3 separate regions of the Homo sapiens genome follow, and regions 2 and 3 are each linked to region 1. The links are contacts of gene promoters, found by promoter capture Hi-C in blood cells and fetal thymus (Javierre and others, 2016). All regions are on one chromosome and are shown on one strand. The core of a region is centred on a gene start or on the middle of the fragment in contact, and the rest is flanking DNA. Distances in the headings are between cores, read along the strand shown.

The links. The method cuts DNA at HindIII sites, captures the fragments that hold promoters and counts their contacts. A CHiCAGO score of 5 or more calls a contact.
Region 2: a contact is called between the fragment with the promoter of EML3 here and a fragment that was not itself captured in region 1, in 7 of 17 cell types (naive B cells, naive CD4 T cells, total CD8 T cells and 4 more). The highest score is 7.5, in naive B cells.
Region 3: the fragment with the promoter of NXF1 here is called in contact with a fragment that was not itself captured in region 1 in 1 of 17 cell types (naive B cells); the score reaches 5.9 in naive B cells.

Annotation. Positions count from the first base shown.
Region 1 is chr11:62,692,958-62,695,781 of GRCh38, reverse strand. It overlaps BSCL2 (BSCL2 lipid droplet biogenesis associated, seipin), which reads left to right. Exons shown (of 11, transcript NM_001122955.4): 4 at 1,071-1,214. HNRNPUL2-BSCL2 (HNRNPUL2-BSCL2 readthrough (NMD candidate)) reads left to right here. Exons shown (of 24, transcript NR_037946.1): 17 at 1,071-1,214. Among named protein-coding and RNA genes, the nearest start is that of LRRN4CL, 4.8 kb to the right of the region's middle. The HindIII fragment of the contact is 2,247 bases long and covers 406-2,652 here.
Region 2 is chr11:62,611,412-62,614,111 of GRCh38, reverse strand. It overlaps EML3 (EMAP like 3), which reads left to right and starts at 1,337. Exons shown (of 22, transcript NM_153265.3): 1 at 1,337-1,676; 2 at 2,516-2,687. The coding sequence starts at 1,655. It overlaps ROM1 (retinal outer segment membrane protein 1), which reads right to left and starts at 855. Exons shown (of 3, transcript NM_000327.4): 1 at 241-855. The coding sequence starts at 830. RefSeq lists enhancers at 861-920, 1,694-2,253, 2,254-2,700 and a silencer at 971-1,850. The HindIII fragment of the contact is 22,044 bases long and covers 1-2,700 here.
Region 3 is chr11:62,803,871-62,806,769 of GRCh38, reverse strand. NXF1 (nuclear RNA export factor 1) reads left to right here and starts at 1,330. Exons shown (of 21, transcript NM_006362.5): 1 at 1,330-1,441; 2 at 2,792-2,899. The coding sequence starts at 1,414. RefSeq lists enhancers at 812-861, 882-1,071, 1,038-1,537. The HindIII fragment of the contact is 11,555 bases long and covers 1-2,899 here.

The DNA.
Region 1 (2,824 bases), core at 280-2,779:
GTTTTGGAGGTAGTTCACTATGGGCTAGGGAAGTATTTTCCAAATTTTTTTTTTTTTTTTTTTTTTTTTTGAGACAGAGTTTTGCTCTTGTCGCCCAGGCTGCAGTGCAATGGCGCGCTCTCGGCTCACTGCAATCTCCGCCTCCAGGGTTCAAGCGATTCTCCTGCCTCAGCCTCCTGAGTGGCTGAGATTACAGGCGCCTGCCACCACGTCCATCTAATTTTTGTATTTTTAATAGAGACGGGGGGTTTCACCATGTTGGCCAGGCTGGTCTCGAACTCCTGACCTCAGGTGATCCACCTGCCTTGGCCTCCCAAAGTGCTGGGATTACAGGCATGACTCACTGCACCTGGCTAACCTTTTTTTTTTTTTTTAACCCATTACCTCTAATTAAAAACAGAAGCTTTACCCTCACTCCTGTAATTTTTATATACTACTGTGTGAGGGCCTTGTTGCCAGATATGAATCAATAAAGGGGCTAGAAGAATATAGAAATAGGAAAAACTAGGGCATGTTTGGTGGCAAATCTTTAACCTCTTGAGGGTGATCCCTGTGAAGAAGCCTTCCTACTCTGAGTCTTGGGGCGCTACCAACAGAACCAAGATAAGGGAGCTAGAATGGCAGAAAGATGATCTGGAGCGAGGATGACTGTGCCAGAGCTGGCTGGGGAGACTGAGCACTGTCAGTGCTTGATTAATAATGTAAGAGAGGACAGGCTGGGCCCTGGGGACAGCCTCACCGGCCCATAGGCCAGAGTCACAGATGGCCCAGTTGGCAACATGATGGTTCACTTTTGGAAAAGAAACGTGACACAGCCTTTCTGGGAACAGGGTAGCCAGTCTGATTCAGGAGAGCCAACAGGATACCCAAGAACTGGACGTGAGAGGCTCTAGCCACCAGAAGGGGGCAGCACCTTCTTGGGATGACAGATTGAAAGGCCCGTTAGGCTACCCAAGAGGGTTGTGGCTGAGTATTTGGGGGCGTTGCGGGGGCTAAGAGGGAGGTGGAATAGAGACAGTACATTTTCAACAAAAAAATTTTTTTAAAGAAATGGGGGCTACCTTTGGCAGGTGCTGATGTATGGACAGCCGTATCGTGTTACCTTAGAGCTTGAGCTGCCAGAGTCCCCTGTGAATCAAGATTTGGGCATGTTCTTGGTCACCATTTCCTGCTACACCAGAGGTGGCCGAATCATCTCCACTTCTTCGCGTTCGGTAAGTGTTGGTGGCCTGTCTGAGAAGGTGTGGAGGAAGATGGCAGGATCAGAATGGGTAGGGGGCTGGGTGTGGTGGCTCAGGCCTATAATCCCAGCAGTTTGGGAGGCCGAGGCAGGCAGATCGCTTGAGCCCAGGAGTTCAAGACTGGCCTGGGCAACATGGCGAAACCCATCTCTACAAAAAAAGTTTAAAAATTAGCTGGGCATGGTGGCTCACGGCTGTAGTCCCAGCTACTCTAGAGGCTGAGGTGGGAGGATCGCTTAAACCTGGGAGGTTGAGTCTGCAGTGAGCCAAGATTGCACCACTATTCTCCCTCCTGGGCAACAGAGCAAGACCGTCTCAAAAAAAAAAAAAAAAAAAAAAAAAAAAGAATGTCTGGGTAGGGATTCCTCAGGAGAAAACACCCTTGGCTTTGAGGTCACAGACACATCAGGATAAAGAAGGGAATCAAGGCCGGGCGCAGTGGCTCATGCCTGTAATCCCAACACTCTGGGAGGCCGAGGCGGGTAGATCACCTGAGGTCCAGAGTTCGAGACCAGCCTGACCAACATGGAGAAATCCCGTCTCTACTAAAAATACAAAATTAGCTGGGCATGGTGGTGCATGCTTGTAATCCCAGCTACTCAGGAAGCTGAGGCAGGAGAATTGCTTGAACCCGGGAGGCAGAGGTTGTGGTGAGCCAAGATCGCGCCACTGCATTCCAGCCTGGGCAACAAGAGCAAAACTTTGTCTTAAAAAAAAAAAGAGAAAGGAATCAGCTTACAAAACCAGAAACCTTTGCCAAACACCCCAGGTATCTCAGGAGCATGCCCAGCTTTGGGATTAAGTGTGAAGAGTGGAGCTGCTCTCAGAAAACAGGCTTTAGAGCCAGACAGACATGGGCTTGTGTCCTCATTCAGAAACAAGCTAGCTGTGGGTCACCTGACTTAACTTCTTGGGTATAAAGTATTATAAAATGGGTATAATAGTAACTGCCTCATAGCAAGACTAGTTTGGATTCAATGGGGAAATGTAAAATTCCCATTAGCACATAGTGGCTGTTTAATGTTTTTTTGTTTTTGAGACAGAGATCTTGCTCTGTCGCCCAGGCTGGAGTGCAGTGGCGTGATCTCGGCTCACGGCAACCTTCACCTCCTGGGTTCAAGCGATTCTCCTGCCTCAGCCTCTCAAGTAGCTGGGACTACAGGTGCTCACCACTACACCTGGCTAATTTTTGTATTTTTAGTGGAGGTGGGGTTTCACCATGTTGACCAGGCTGGTCTCGAACTCCTGATCTCAAATGATTCAACCACCTCAGCCTCCCAAAGTGCTGCAAGTACAGGTGTGAGCCACCGCACCTGGCCTAATAAATGTTAAGACTCCATTCTTCCATTAATTAACAACACAACCTCATCATGAAGCAAATTCCTGATGTCTACATGATGGGGGGAAAGCTTCAGATGGTGCGCTGGGACTTAGATCCCATACTGGATTACAGAACTACTTGGTGGGAAAGGCAGATCAGAGACAGTGCTGGGCTTAATCTAGGAAGGTTTCTTGGAAGGAGGGGCCTTTGCTCTATAATAGAGTGTGGTTGAGTAGGGAGAGAGGTACTCAAGCAATTGGAA
Region 2 (2,700 bases), core at 88-2,587, 81 kb after region 1:
CTTCACAACAACTCTATCAGATAAGTACTATTATTTCCATTTTACAGGTGAAGGAATGGGCCCAGGGTGGTTTGGTAACATGCCCTGGGTTTCACAGCTAATAAATGGCAGAGCTGTAACCAGTCTCTCAGCCACTATGTTCTACTTATTGCCCCTCTGAGCGAGGTGGGGATTCAAGGCAGCAGGAGGGAGCCTGTCCAGGGAGGAGGAGGAGGAGGAAGGGAGACGCAAATCACTCACTCAGCCACATCCCGGTCACCGGGATCCAGGTAACGGCTGCTGACCCACTGGACCCCAAACCAATCCTTGTACCCGTGGCGCCCGCAGCAGTGGTACCTCAGTTGCAGCTCATCCACCAGCCTTTTGGCCTGACAGTGCCCAGGCACCTCTGTGTCCTTGTAGTGAGCCAAGGCAGTCACCAGGCCCTCCTCCAGCGCCTCATCCAGACTCCCAGGCAAAGCCAGGGCTAGCCCGAGGCCGACGACCAGGAGCCCCCCCCCACCAGCCGTGCCAGCCACCAGCAGCGGGCCCAGGACCCCTCGCCAGGGAGGGTATAGAGCTGCATTCAGACTTGCCCGGCTGGCTCCTACACCCACTAGTCCTGTGCCCAGAGCCACCGCGCCCGCTGCCAGGGCAGCCTGGGGCAGGACAGGGAACTGACAGGAGGGAGCCAGGAAGGTGCCAAGGTGCCTTAGCTGGACCAGGAGGTGCCCACTACAGAGGAGGATGACGCCACCAGCCAGCGCCAGCAGCCAGGAGAGGAGCCAGAGCCCTTGTGCCAGGCGGATGCGGGGCTGCAGGGGCAGCACCAGGGGCAACACCGGCGCCATCTCCCATCTCTGCCCAAGGGAATGCAGAGGTGTCAGGGATGGAAGCTGGCTGGGGCAGGATGCTGAGTCAGCCCGGCCCGGCTTGAGCTGGGCTAATGCCACCCTGACCCCAATACCCTGAGCATCCTCCCATCCTCAGCCCTAATAACCCGCCCCCCTGTCAGCCCCAATACAAGATGCCTTGGCCTTGCCCCTTACGAGAAACTCCGCCCCTAGGCCGAGGGCCCGTTTTGTGACCCCGCCCCTGCCCCTCGCGGAAGTGGTGGGGTTGGTCCGCTCAACCCTGAGGGGTTAGGGGCTGGGGGGCGGAGATATCGGGGCGGGCGCTCCCTTCCCCGTCCCCTGGGAATCCGGGGGCGGGGATCCGGGAAGGGCCTGGAGCCGGAGGCCGGGAGTAGGCCAGGGGGTCAGCCGGCTAGCCCCGCCCCCGTACTGAGCGGCGAGGCCCGGACAGGGAGGGGTTACCAAGCGGCCCGGCCCCCCCTCGGGCCCGCCCCCCCTCCCGCGCTTCCTGGCGGCTCCGCGTCCGGCGCCTGTTTGTGCTGCGGCGCTGTGGCACCGGACGGCCCTGCCACCCCACCCCCGGGAGCCGAGAGCGGCCCCGGGAGAGTCCGAGGGCCCGGGGGGGTCTGGAGACTGCGGCCCCGGGCCCACAGCGCCCCCTCCAGGCCCCTTCCCCGCGCCCGACAGCGCCCCCTCGGGGTGGTGGTACGGCGCCCTTCGCGCGCGCCCCGGGGTGCTTCCCCTTCCCCTCTCCCCGGCCGTGGCCCCCGCGGCTTAGACGCCTCCTCCGCCGCCGCCGCTCGGAGCAACCCGGGGGCCGGATGGACGGGGCCGCGGGGCCCGGTGAGTACGGGGCGGGGCGGGCGGCGTGCCCCTTCCCGGAGCGCCCGGCTCGTCGGGTTATGCCAGAGCTGGACGGCTGTCTGGAGGCGTCCCCGCGTGCTCCTCCGCCCCAGGGGCTCCGAGCATCCTCCACAGTTCCTCCGGTCGCCCTCCCTAGTTGCTTGGGTCTTGCTGTCACTTCGGGCTTCCCCAGCGTCATTCTACGCCCCACGTAACTCCGGGCCCCTCGATGTTTCCCTGCCCCCTGCGTTACTCCGGGCCTCTTCTCGTGGTATTTCAGGTCTTTTTCCTTCTGATCCCCACTGCCCCCTGAGACCTTCACTGTGACTCTGCTCACCACTCACACTCTCTCCTGTCACTCTGGATCTCTTTTCTTGTACTCTGGGTCCTCAGTATGACTCCATTCCCGCACCCCGTTCTCTCTCCTGGTGTTCCCCCGGCTCAGTTACTCAGCTTTCGCTGGAGACCTGAGCTTGCTGGGGGCGCGTGGGGAGGGCTGCGGTCCCTGCCCTCACCAGTGCGGCGCCTCTCTCTGTGGCTCCCACGTTCCTCGGCAGTACTCCATATTTCCCCCCCGGTACTCCATGGTACTCCCAGTCTTTGCGGAGGCTGAGACGGCAGCAGGAAGGGAGCTTTGCCAGGTTTCTCGCCTGCCCTGCCAGAAGGAGGCCCTTGATCCTTTACCACCGTCTCCTCCCCTCTGGACGAGCATTCAAGCCTGGGGCTGCCTGAAAGGGGCAGTCCTACCGGACACATGTAAAGTTGTGGGGAGACAGAATCCCCTCTACGCTTTCTTCAGGTGATGGGTACATTCTGAGTACCTCTTGCCCTTTTCCCAGGTGACGGCCCTGCTCGGGAGGCCCTCCAGTCTCTGAGCCAGCGGCTTCGGGTGCAGGAGCAGGAGATGGAACTGGTAAAGGCAGCCCTGGCAGAAGCCCTTCGCCTGCTGCGGCTGCAGGTGCCCCCTTCCTCCCTGCAGGGCTCTGGCACACCAGCTCCTCCGGGGGACAGGTATGCATGTCAT
Region 3 (2,899 bases), core at 81-2,580, 110 kb before region 1:
AGGCTATTTTGGGCTCTGACACACAGCTGCCTCTAGGCAGGGGAGAACCAAGTGTTGCAACACTTCATTAGCGTGGAAACTTCCTTTCACACAGGGGAGCAGGATCCCAGAGGGGGTCCCTGATTGGGGGCAACTTCCAGGACTATCTCAAGCAGTGTTTGGACCTGTTTCATCTGTATCCTCCAACTATTTGGCCGTAATTCTTCCTTGAGCTAAGCGAGGCAGAAGCTCTGCCTGCTTCCAGGAGTGGAAGGTGAAGAATTTGTTCCCAACTCCAGTTGAGGCTTTTGATTCCCTCCAAGCACTTCACCAAATCAAAGCCAGTCACAGAGAATGGAGACACCTGCCCAGAATACCCACCGTCCAGGGAGATTAGTGTGCTTTGTTCTTCCTGACCGAGACTCACAACCACATTCTGAGGTCACTCGAGTGCCCCTGTCTCATACATTCCAAAGGAAGTTGAAGCTATAGAGACAACAGTCAGGGGCTGGTGGTGGTGCTTTTGGGGGTCTAGGAGAGCCCAAGGCCCTGATATTTTAAAATGTCCTCCTCGGCATCTCCAGCAAGTTGCCACTGCTGGTGAGCTTCACTGTCTGCCCCGTTGACACGATGGGTTTCTAGTAGGGGACGCCATTGATGGAAGGTCTGTGAAGACAATGCTCGCCAAACCCCTGACAGATGTCGTATCATTTGACTCAGCAACTCAGGGCGGGGCGGGGTGGGGGAAATTCATAACACAAATTCATTTATTTCACAAATATATGTTGAGTTTTTACCATGTGCCAGGCATAGTACCTGCCGAGTCAAGCCCTCGAGGAAAAAAAGCCCTTAATTAGTCAACGTTCGAGCTCACATTCTAATTCTCAACTTCGTGATTTGTTAATCCATCTTATAGGCGAAGAAAGCGAGGTATAGACAAGGAGCCGAGCTGAAACACTGGCTAGATTCCGGTAGGGGTCTGAGCCATCACTCCCACCTGGAGGCGCGGTCTCCATTCCTCTGAAGCCCTTTGTGCGGCCCCCTTCCTCACTGAGTTCTGGGCTGCGGCGGCAGCACTGTGCTCTAGCACTAACTCTGAAGCTGCCAGGGCAGCGTCAGCGGACAGATGAAAAGGTGCGGGGACATGCTGGCTGCCAGCCGGGGTTCCGCAAGTTCAGGTCTTGGGCGGGGCGTGGAGGGCCAGGCCCCGCCCCTCGAACGACGGCCTTAAGTGTGCGCACGCGCAGGGGGCCGCGCTTTCTCCGGGCGGCGGCACCGCCCACAGCCTGGGACGTCAGCGGCGCGCGACGTGCTTTGCTGTATAAATGCGGTGGCGCCCGGCGTAGGGACACTTCGGTCCTGAGCGCTTGGGAGTTAGGTTGTTTGCCGGCGTAGCGGCCAGCGCCTGAGCCCGCCCTTGATCTTCGCTGTGGCATGGCGGACGAGGGGAAGTCGTACAGCGGTAAGTGCTGGTCTTCGGGTCGGGAACTGGCTATCTGGGGCGCGGGTGGGCGGCGCCGGCCTAGGCCTCAGCCCCCGGGGCGTGAGGCCGCTAGGGGCCCGGCGTCCGCGGGGAGCGGCGCGCGGGGGGCCGGGCACTCGAGGTGGACACCCGAGTTGTTGACTCCTGGATTCCTGCTGGCATCCTGGTGTTGGGGGACCTGCGGCTCGGAGCGGATGGCTCGGGGGTAGGGTGACGGGATTCCTTTGAACTTTGTGGGTGGTTGATGCCTGTCAGTTAGGTTTGGCGGCCTGACTCTTCCTTTAATGTGAGTGAGTGCCCTGCTCGTGGGCTGCCCTGATGCCCTATTTTTTACTGCGTCCAGTCGGTCTTGAACTCTCGGGCCTGGGCTTTGGCTTAATATTCGAGACTTACACATCAACTGGATATTCTAGTCTGAACACTACACTGGGTGTTAGTTCTTTGTAGTAAGTTAGGAGTGCGTGGTGGAGGTTGAAACCGTGAATTTAAAACTCTCGTTTTCCACCCCCTTAATGTGGAATAACAACAGCATTTCTTAAGAGTGTGTGTGGGGAGGGGAAATGAGATCATTCCTATCAAGTGCCTGAAGCATAGTGGCCGGCACTGGAGAAAGTTCTCAGTGAATGTTAGCTGCGCCTTCTATGTTCTTTTTTCCTAGGGTCATTTGTTGAGATTCATTGTTTACAGAGTGCTGGGTATTAGGCAGACCTCTTTTGGGAGTTAGGGACCTTTTTTAAGACGCCAGTCCTACACAGCATGAATCAGAAGGTCATCTTCCTGGAGAGCATTCCAGGGTCCCTGGTTAAGCACCCTAGCCTGGCACTGCCACTAGAGCCTGAGTCTAGAATTTGTCTCCTGAGTTAAAGGACATTTCTGGCCATGGAAACGAAGAGCTCCTCACAAAACTTCAAAGTGGCAGTTTGAGAACAAGGAGAATTTTTAGAGGATCCTTAAACTGGTCATATTTGTAACTGGCGTCTGCACTGTATAGACAAAGTACTGAGTGGCAGATTTCAGGTGGCTTTCAGAGGTCTGATTTGTGTTCAGTTACACTTTTGGGTCTCACATTTCTACATCCTGCTTCTCTCTAATTCCAGTTTCTACTTCATTTTTCAAAAGCCCTACACAGTTTTCCAGTAACTTTTCCCTGATGCTGCCCTCCCACAGAGAGGGTTCTTTCCTGTGGATAGGGAGCGGAGTTTGCATGGAGATGGCCTCTGTCGTTAGTATGTATCTCTTCCAATAGTTCAGAGTACTAGAAGCTATGATTGCCACACCAAACCGGACCAGTTACTTACTTCTAATTTGTGTTCCTGTTTCTAACTCTAGAACACGATGATGAACGCGTTAATTTCCCTCAAAGAAAGAAGAAAGGCCGGGGTCCCTTCCGGTGGAAATATGGTGAAGGAAACCGTAGGTCTGGAAGAGGCGGTTCTG